Regions from separate parts of the Homo sapiens genome. Here regions 2 and 3 are each linked to region 1. The links are contacts of gene promoters, found by promoter capture Hi-C in blood cells and fetal thymus (Javierre and others, 2016). All regions are on one chromosome and are shown on one strand. The core of a region is centred on a gene start or on the middle of the fragment in contact, and the rest is flanking DNA. Distances in the headings are between cores, read along the strand shown. Region 1 holds the start of RGS2 (regulator of G protein signaling 2). Region 2 holds the start of RGS18 (regulator of G protein signaling 18). Region 3 overlaps LOC124904475 (a long non-coding RNA gene).

Region 1 (2,996 bases), core at 78-2,577:
AAGAGAGGTTCTGTATGTTAGCTTACGCACATCAGAGTTCCCCTTTTCAGTTCAGCAGCTAACTATTGATATTTGCAAGCACAGGATTCTCAACTTACTTGATGAAAGCTTGCTGTTTGCTTTTTTTGCCGGTTTTGGGCTTCCCAGGAGTAGAGGAATTTTGTAAGAAGTAGCTCAAACGGGTCTTCCAATCTTTTAAACTAAAACAAAAAATTAAAAAGATAATTACTAACTAGCAACACTTGAATATGCTACTGCAGCTGAACGCATTTTTACCAAATAAAGTCACCCAGTAACTAGAGACAAACCGCATAAGGCAAAGCAAGAACTCTTCAAATAAGTCTTATCCACCTAACATTTAAACCTCATGTACTGAGCAGTTTCGTCCATTAATCTGACCGTATCTACTAGTTTTACAACTAAGGGCAGGGCTACCTATAATCACTAGGGTATTTTAAAGAATTGTTAATGAATTTAGTTCAAAAGGCAGACACTATTTCTGGCTCACAAAGGGCATCAGTTTGTTTGCAAGGTTAATTACAATTCCGAGACGTTTTGCACTTTAATGAAAAGGACAGACATGGAACTGTCTGGAGCCGGCCCACGCTTCTCTCTTTAGAGCAGGAGGTTCTGGACCACGCCAGAGACTGTACAAAGAGGTGGGTGACTGATTCCCCTGCGCTCTTCCTTCCCCACCTACGACACTTCTTTTAAGCAGACGCTGCATAACAATTATTTGTTCCACATTCGGACTGGGTGAGATCTGCTCTATAATTAAAAAACAAAAATGGATTTTAAACGAGTATATTCAGAACCAGCAAGAGCATCACCTTCCAGTAGCTGTGTAAGCTGATGAGAACTCATCATGCAACGTATGAATGCTGGGGACGCGCTTCAGCCGCAGGATTCTGATGTCATTTTGAATGCAGGAGGACAAAAAGCCAACCCGCAATTTCTTAGCGCATCAACCACCGCCCTCATATCAACTGTCTCCCTCGGTTCTTAAACTGTACCCGAGCATCACCCAGATTTAACCTTACTTAACAAATTGACCTTTTCGATTTTTTTTCCCTGCATAGGCTCAGGCTAGTTTCCTAACGTCAAAGGCGAGCCCGAAAGTACCGCGTTTGCAGCTTGCAGTGTGGGGCAGGGGGTGGCGGGAGAGGGAAGAAAGCCATACTCACAGGGTCCGTTTCATCTTTTCTCGCTTCTCCTCGCTCTTGTGGCCACTGCCTGCGCTCTTGTCCATGGGTCTGCAGTCGTGTTGAACAGCCAAGAACATAGCACTTTGCATTATCGTTCTCCCGCTGGAGCCCCGGCTGTTTGCGGCTGGGCGTGCGTCGCAGCATTTATGAGGCCTCGGCTTGGGGGCGGGGCCTCGCGGCTCCGGCCCCGCCTCAAGAGGACGCGGATTGGTCGGCTGCAGACTGGCACGGGGATGGGTCAGCGCCCGCCGGCGGCAGTCACGGCTGCTGCCGAAGGGTCTCGAAGCCGGGGCGCTGCTGACGTCTGCGGCCCCGGCTTCTTGCGCACTCGGGCCACATAGCAGCGGCCAGCTGGGGCAGGTGTGGGAGCAGATGGAGAGTCTTCAGTGTGGGCCGCTGCGCACGACCTTTTGCTGAAGCGTGGCGGCCGGGCGGGCTCGAGGGCTTTGCGACGGAGGGAGGGAGCCGAAGTTGGCGGCGGCCCGGCGGGGGCGCCGGCGCTCCCTCACCCACCCTGACGGGCTCCCCAGCCCGAGGCCAGAGCGGCGATTCCCTGGCAGGAGGAGGTCGCCCGCCACGAGGCCGGAGTGCAGTGGCCTGATTTCGAATGAAGAGTGGGATTTTTCTTCCTTTTTTGAGCGCGTTCCCTGACCCCGCGCCTCATTTCTTGTTTGCTGTCCTGCTGTAGGACTCATTCGACACCCCCTGGTCTGTGAACTGAGGCAATGGGGAGACCCTCGCCCGTTTCTCTCTGCCACTTAACTTAAGGAAGGAGTAACCTGAAACGTTGATTGCCCAGGGGCAGGGTGGGATCTGCTCTGCAGCTTGCTGGGGCGTCTTGGAACACTTTGAGAATGAACATTAGGGATTGAACAAGAGAAAGTGACTTTATCAGAAGACAGTGCTTTAATTGGGTTTGCATTTTTGATCACTACTAGGCACGTGGCTGGGTCTGTCTATAGGGTCATTCCTCAGGAGTCCTTGGTCACATCTCCTGCCAAAATAGAAATCACAGATTTCCTTATGGTGGGAGAGAAAGCTGCAGACATAGAGATTTCATAGCTGTAATGCACCAGAATCAGTGAGTTCAAGGAGTCAGGATTTCCTCATGAGTCATTCTTGTTGAGTTAGGATTTACCAGAACATTTAATAACTGGCAAAAAGTAGGGGGGAGAATGAGTTAACAGTTTCCTTGATTAAGTTTTATTTGTTAATTCTTCAAGTATCATCTCTACTCCTGAAGGTTTTAAAACGACTTGATTGGTAAAGACAAATAGATTACCTCAACCACAAAATGAGTTGATTTCGGATAATATTACCAGAACTAGCCAGTGAAATGTTTAAGCGGCTTTGCAACCAAGCTGCAGATATTCTCTCTACTTTGTATTCGACTTCTTAAAAGGAAATTGGAAATAATTAATATATTCTTACGGTGAGCTGCCAGTAGTTGGAGCTCCAAGTTTGACTTGGAGGGCAAAACCTGCAGTTATTATTTAAGACAACAGTTGTGGACTTTATTGTGGAAAGGAAAATCGTGTAGATTTCAGTAATAGATACTTTGAAACATGCTTGTTAACTCTAGGAATGCCATTTTTTCTTAAGCATATGCTCTTCCTCTCCTATGCTTTGCATAATAGTCCTACATCTATTTTCACTTTCTGATGACTCAATACGTATTTATCAGCTGTCTGTAATACGCAGACACTTGCTTTTTCTCACCACTGTAAACCTCAATATATTTTATACTTAGAACCTTAGATGTTAGAATTTACTCATAGACAGTTAAATTCG
Region 2 (2,783 bases), core at 39-2,538, 650 kb after region 1:
TTGAATTAAATAAATGCTAAGTATTAAAAGACATTATTTGTGCTTTACTTGCTATAATGCGTGTGTTTTTTCAAACTACTGAAGAAAGAGATGAATATCTCTCTGCTATGACAATATTGCATTGTGAAAACTCTTAAATTAATGAGCATTTTATCAGGTTATAAGGAGTAAAACATGTCATTTAAAACTGACAGGTATATAATTTTAAAAGAGCAGCTTTAAGTGTTCACGTGATTATTCAATTCAAGCGATTTAATTCAAGTGATTTAATTTTATGAAATATTTCTAGTCTCTTCAAATGAAATTTCTAACTTTCCTTATATTGCTGTGTAATTTTCAATAAATCAGAAATCCCTAACTGCATTTTTCTTAAATCTTTAATGATAGAATCAGCAAAATCTTCCTCAAAATACTGAAAATTTATTCACCTTGTTTCTTTGGCCAAGTGCCCAGATCTACTGGAGCGGGTGTCTTCATGAAACTCAGGTTTCTGCACAAGAAGACTTAGTCTATTTCTTTTTTCCTTAGCTCTGTAATAAAAAGGCCTTCATGTCAGGACAATTTAGATGACAGTTAAAATCTCTCCTGCTGACTACCAGAAAATTTTGTAGTTGGTAAAAACCCACGCCCACCCATACCCACACACTCATGAATCCCATTTAAATATTGTATTTGTGGAGGAATTAGGGTAACATACGAAAATGTTTCTCCTTTTGCTCACCGACAATCAAGTATTTGAGATTATATTTCAATAAAGATTGCACTAGTTCCTCTATGTGGCTAACATTATTACACTTTTTTTTTAATGAGAACACTTTAGATTTCAGTTTGTTGTTTAAACCTAAGAAATAAAAAGGTGTTTTTTTTTCCCAAATTATAGCAATACAAACAATATATTTTCCACCCAATAGTTCAAAAACAAGAGGTAATGAATCTTCAACCTCAATTATGCTTTTAAAAGTATAAGGCTGACTTAAAATTGTACAATTTTACCTGATTTTGGCTTCTTTGCTTGTTTCTTCTTTTCCTGAACCATGTATTAACTTGAAAAAAGTTTTTTCTTTTGATTCACACATATTTATTTGAGAAAAGAAAAGCAATGTTGTTTCCATCTTCTCTCTAAAATGAAGAGATGTCTAATTTATTACATCCTTCCCTAGTTCATTTATTAATACTATTCCATACATATACATAGTAGAATAAAAAGTTATCACAACTCTTACAGTAATGTTTACAAAAAAGAAGTCAAGAGCTGCGTTTCTTTCTGTCTCTGCAGAAATGCAGAACTGAGGAAATGAAGTACAATTTGGTCCTAAGTTGTTTAGGGAAATGATACCACAAATTTGCAAAATGACTCTTGGTCTCTAAGATAAAGACTAGTCTTACCACAGTGCAACTTCTCGTTCAAGTTTGCGCAACCAGAATGATGCTTTAATAGACTCAAATAACACTGTCATTTCCCACAGGAACTTTTCAAAAAGTTTTTAAATGTGTGGACTGTGTGTTAAAATGTGTTATGGCAAAGTATTATATCAAACATTAGGAGATATTTTCTCCAGTTCTTAAAAAAGTATTTTTCTTATTGTTATTACATGAGTTAAGTAAATCACATTTAACTGACATAAGATTATGTAATGTTAATTACATTGGCTTAACATATTGTAACAAAATAAGACAATAGATCAGAATTTTATGGTTAAAAAAAGATTGTAGAAAGCATTTAATTTAACAGTTTTGGGCTGGGCACAGTAACTCATGCCTGTAATCTGGAGGCTAAGGTGGGCAGATTACCTGAGCTCAGGAGTTCAAGACCAGCCTGGGCAACATGGTGAGACCCCATCTCTACTAAAAATACAAAAAATTACCCAGGCACGGTGGTGTGCACCTACAGTCCCAGCTACTCAGGAGGCAGAGCCAGGAGAATCCCTTGAACCTGGGAGTCGGAGGTTGCAGTGAGCTGAGATCATGCCGGCTACTTCACTTCAGCCTGGGCAACGGAGCAAGACTCTGTCTCAAATAAATAAATAAAGTTTTAAGCACATATCTATAGAATGATTTTAGACATTTTTGAAATTTTTATCAGTCTGTGATGAAATGGAAAAAAATATGAAAAGTTTTTTTTCTTAAAGCTTTATTTTAATTCCTTTGATATAAAGGACTTGCTATTTTGAATTTGCTCTCCTGACTCTTTTGTTGTTAAAATGTTCTTTATAATGTAAAAATGTTCTTTATAATGACATGGATTAAGTAGAGATGGTAGTTTTTATATTTTAATGCCTTTATTAAAAAAAATGTTGACAACTCCAATTGGTTTAGCCTCCACTTCTTTCACTGTTTTATAGAATACAAAAGTCTTACAAATGCAGTTCTAGTCCATAATTCAAATTTTATTGAAAAATAAACCAAAGTTCACAGGCATTAGGTAATTTAATCCTACAAAGTTTCAGAGACAGGCCAGTGGAAAATCTGGAATTATCAGAGCCTTTGATCACCTACTATGTGCTTTAGTCCTTCCAAGAATCTTTGATCTCCAGTAGTGAATGCTTTAATCTAAAATGGTATATATTGAAAGCTGAGTTATACAAACCTAAAAGAAAATTTTATTTTCAGTCTTTTTGAATTATTTTTTTACCAAGACAATTTATCAGGGATACCAGCTAAAAGCTCAAAACATTTATCTATATGAAATTAAAGACTTTCTAGTATATATTTATACATATACCCCCTGATTCCATGACTTGTACTTTGAACATATTTTAAATCTCTCACCTTGGCTGAGAATT
Region 3 (2,961 bases), core at 142-2,641, 670 kb before region 1:
GTGATTATTTAGTTAACTCCATAAATGGGAAAATACTAATCTTACCTTCTCATACCTCAAATGGGGCAAAGATTTAGGAAGGTTCTCACAACTAGGGCTGCAAATCTGAGTGGCCCATCCACAAGAATTAAATAGGAAATTATCTGAAGAATTTAATTGACTATTAATTATAATTTACAATTGCCCAAAGACATTTCTTCTCTTGTGCCTTTAGCTGTAAATTACATTATTTAACATATATTGTTATTTCCTTTTGTACCTATTTTACGACAACCATTATGCTTGATTCATCATTTTTCCCTTATGTAGTGCTGTGTAGTATAATATCTTGGAGCTTATGATTTAATAAATATTGATCTCCCTTGGTCTTTATTATGCTAAGAAAAAGAGACCTGGTTCTCTTTTTCAGGTTATCATTAGGCTTGTGAAATGTGATATACAAAGTGGTTTAGAGCCTTGAAATGCAGTCAGGAAGCCATTCTAAGAACTACCTGCGTGACCTGAAACCTTGCAAAACAGGAACTTGTCTTTAACATTTGAACTGGGTCACACCGCCATGACCACAACATCCTGGAAAACAGCCGAATTTCACCAATGCTGCAACTCCTAAACAGTGACAACCAATGAACTGTGGACTCATGTACTAAACCAACCACTGTCACCAGTGATATCTTTCAAAACAACTTGTGATTACCTTCAGCATCCTTTTACAAATCTGTACCATCCTACCTCTCTTCAGAACACAGTTTAGTTTCTAGCTCAGTCTGTCCCTCAAATTGCAATTCCTAAGACCCCAAGAAATGCCTTATCTTACTGCATTGCAGTCTAGTCTTCACCTCTTCCTAGTTGACAGGCTCCACAATAAGATAAACTATGTGAGGAAAGAAGCAAGCTTTGTCAATACAGTCAAATTGACATTTCTAAGAATTATATAAGTTTTCCCCAGAAAAATACAGTGACTTCTCTTCAATTCACACATTTGTTTCTTGAAATTTTGGGGACCACTTACAAAAGTTTAATGCAATCTTACATATTTTGGATAAGTCACTTTATAACATTGGGATCAAAATGCCTACTATAGTTATTTTCTATAAGTGGTTTCCATTAAGATAACTACTTTAACAAATACTAAATTTTATTATATTACTTTAATTACATTACTTTATTAAATACTAAACTTTATTATACCACATTAACTTTCTTTCCAGTAAAATATTACATAGAGTAAGAATTTATATAGATAAGTAGTCATAGATATAATGTTTAAAAATACCTTTTGATATGTCATAGGAAACATTGCTTTTAGCTTCTTCTTCCCCTTACCAAATAGTACCACTTATTACAGTCCTGTGCACTGTTCTGCACCAATAAGTTGAGCCGTTGACAAATGCAATTGGATTATTAAAAATCTTGTTTTCCCTTGATTATATTACAATCTGCAACCCATGACTCTCCATATGGTATTAAAATAAGTTTGATTAGAATTCTAAGGGTAACAGTAAGTGAATCACATTATTATTTCCAAACACATCACTGGTATGAATGAGAGTTAAACACTAACGTATACTTTTAAAACATTATCAACAAATTCCCCCAGTAAACAGCCAAACACCACAGAAAACCAGAATTAATCCTACTATCCAAAATTGTTCTGTGCAAAAATGAAACAAGAATACAATCGACTTCTGATTTGACCCTTATTAAAGTAATGCAGCATATTACAGTGGGATATTCTAATGGGCAAGAGAAAAAAAACAAGTCAGTTTTTTGAAACACACTATTCCATATGGCTTTTCCAAGGAAGTCCTAAATTTGAAGAGAGCATCCTGTTCATTTACATGGTTTCCAACACATTTAAGTTGTATAAAGGAATACCCTAAGGAAGCTTTTCAAGTTTGTAAACCAAGCACTTTGCCTTTACCTTTATTTGCTCCCACCAAAATGCTAACGATATCATCTGAAATTTCCTGCATCCCAAGGCATATGTGTACTAATATTCATTTTACACAAGTAGTTACTACATAGACCATGTGTACTGAAAAGCCTAAAATATTTACTATCTGGCCATTTACAGAAAAAGTGTACCAACCCCCATCCCAAACTAAAGCTAAAGACTTTAAGATCCTCCCTGCTTCATTGCTTTGTTAAATGCTGGCTCAGTCTGTTACTGGATAGTCAAAGTTTCAGATTTAAATTCTGCAGCTGAAATTTACCTCTTAAAAAATCAATCTCCTGTCATCTCTCATAAATTGATACAATTCTTACAAAAAATATGTTTGCACACAGCCCTTCCCTCTTCTGTATTGTAAACCTACCTTTCAGGTACCCTATCATGTAGGTCTCACCTGACTTTTATAAGGAAGGTATACATCTGCCTTGGAGCTATCACAGCTGTTTCCAATTAGCTATCTGACTAAATGATTAGACAACCACACATTTTAAAGTCTATTTTTCATCTATGTAGCTTGTAAATAAAGCTCTAAATTTTAGTCTCTAATCTCAGTTGAATAGAAACCAATTCATGTTGGCCCCATGAAAGAAGCAGGTCTGGGGGCCAACAAACCCTTAAAAGACAAGTGGTCAGCACTAAAACCTCTAAGGGATTGAGGTAGCCCATTGGAAAGAAAAATTTGGAATAGCTATTGATAATCTTTCCATTTATTCCCTTCATTTGAGCACTTGAAAAACTCCTACAGCTGCCTGCCCATCATCTTTCTACTTCCCCTCTTTCTTCCTTTTCTTTTTATTTTTTTTCTTTATCTCCTGGAAGAAAAAAGTGGAACCAGATCTCAGACAGTAAAGAAGCAGAAAGCAAGAGAAAAAATAACTAGTTTAGCTCCTTCTGGGCTTCCACCCTGTATTAGTCTATTTTCACGCTGCTGATAAAGACATACCGAGACTGGGTAATTTATAATGAAAAAGTGGTTCAACAGACTCACAGTTCAGTGTGGCTAGGGAGGC

The links. The method cuts DNA at HindIII sites, captures the fragments that hold promoters and counts their contacts. A CHiCAGO score of 5 or more calls a contact.
Region 2: a contact is called between the fragment with the promoter of RGS18 here and the fragment with the promoter of RGS2 in region 1, in 2 of 17 cell types (monocytes and neutrophils). The highest score is 11.0, in monocytes.
Region 3: a fragment that was not itself captured here is called in contact with the fragment with the promoter of RGS2 in region 1 in 1 of 17 cell types (total B cells); the score reaches 6.3 in total B cells.

Annotation. Positions count from the first base shown.
Region 1 is chr1:192,807,370-192,810,365 of GRCh38, reverse strand. RGS2 (regulator of G protein signaling 2) reads right to left here and starts at 1,327. Exons shown (of 5, transcript NM_002923.4): 1 at 1,185-1,327; 2 at 99-200. The coding sequence starts at 1,294. RefSeq lists silencers at 74-133, 1,641-1,850, 2,787-2,876 and an enhancer at 1,091-1,310. The HindIII fragment of the contact is 4,593 bases long and covers 111-2,996 here.
Region 2 is chr1:192,156,967-192,159,749 of GRCh38, reverse strand. RGS18 (regulator of G protein signaling 18) reads right to left here and starts at 1,288. Exons shown (of 5, transcript NM_130782.3): 1 at 994-1,288; 2 at 429-530. The coding sequence starts at 1,112. The HindIII fragment of the contact is 5,451 bases long and covers 1-2,131 here.
Region 3 is chr1:193,477,054-193,480,014 of GRCh38, reverse strand. All of the region lies in intron 3 of LOC124904475 (a long non-coding RNA gene), which reads right to left. Among named protein-coding and RNA genes, the nearest start is that of LINC01031, 170 kb to the right of the region's middle. The HindIII fragment of the contact is 993 bases long and covers 895-1,887 here.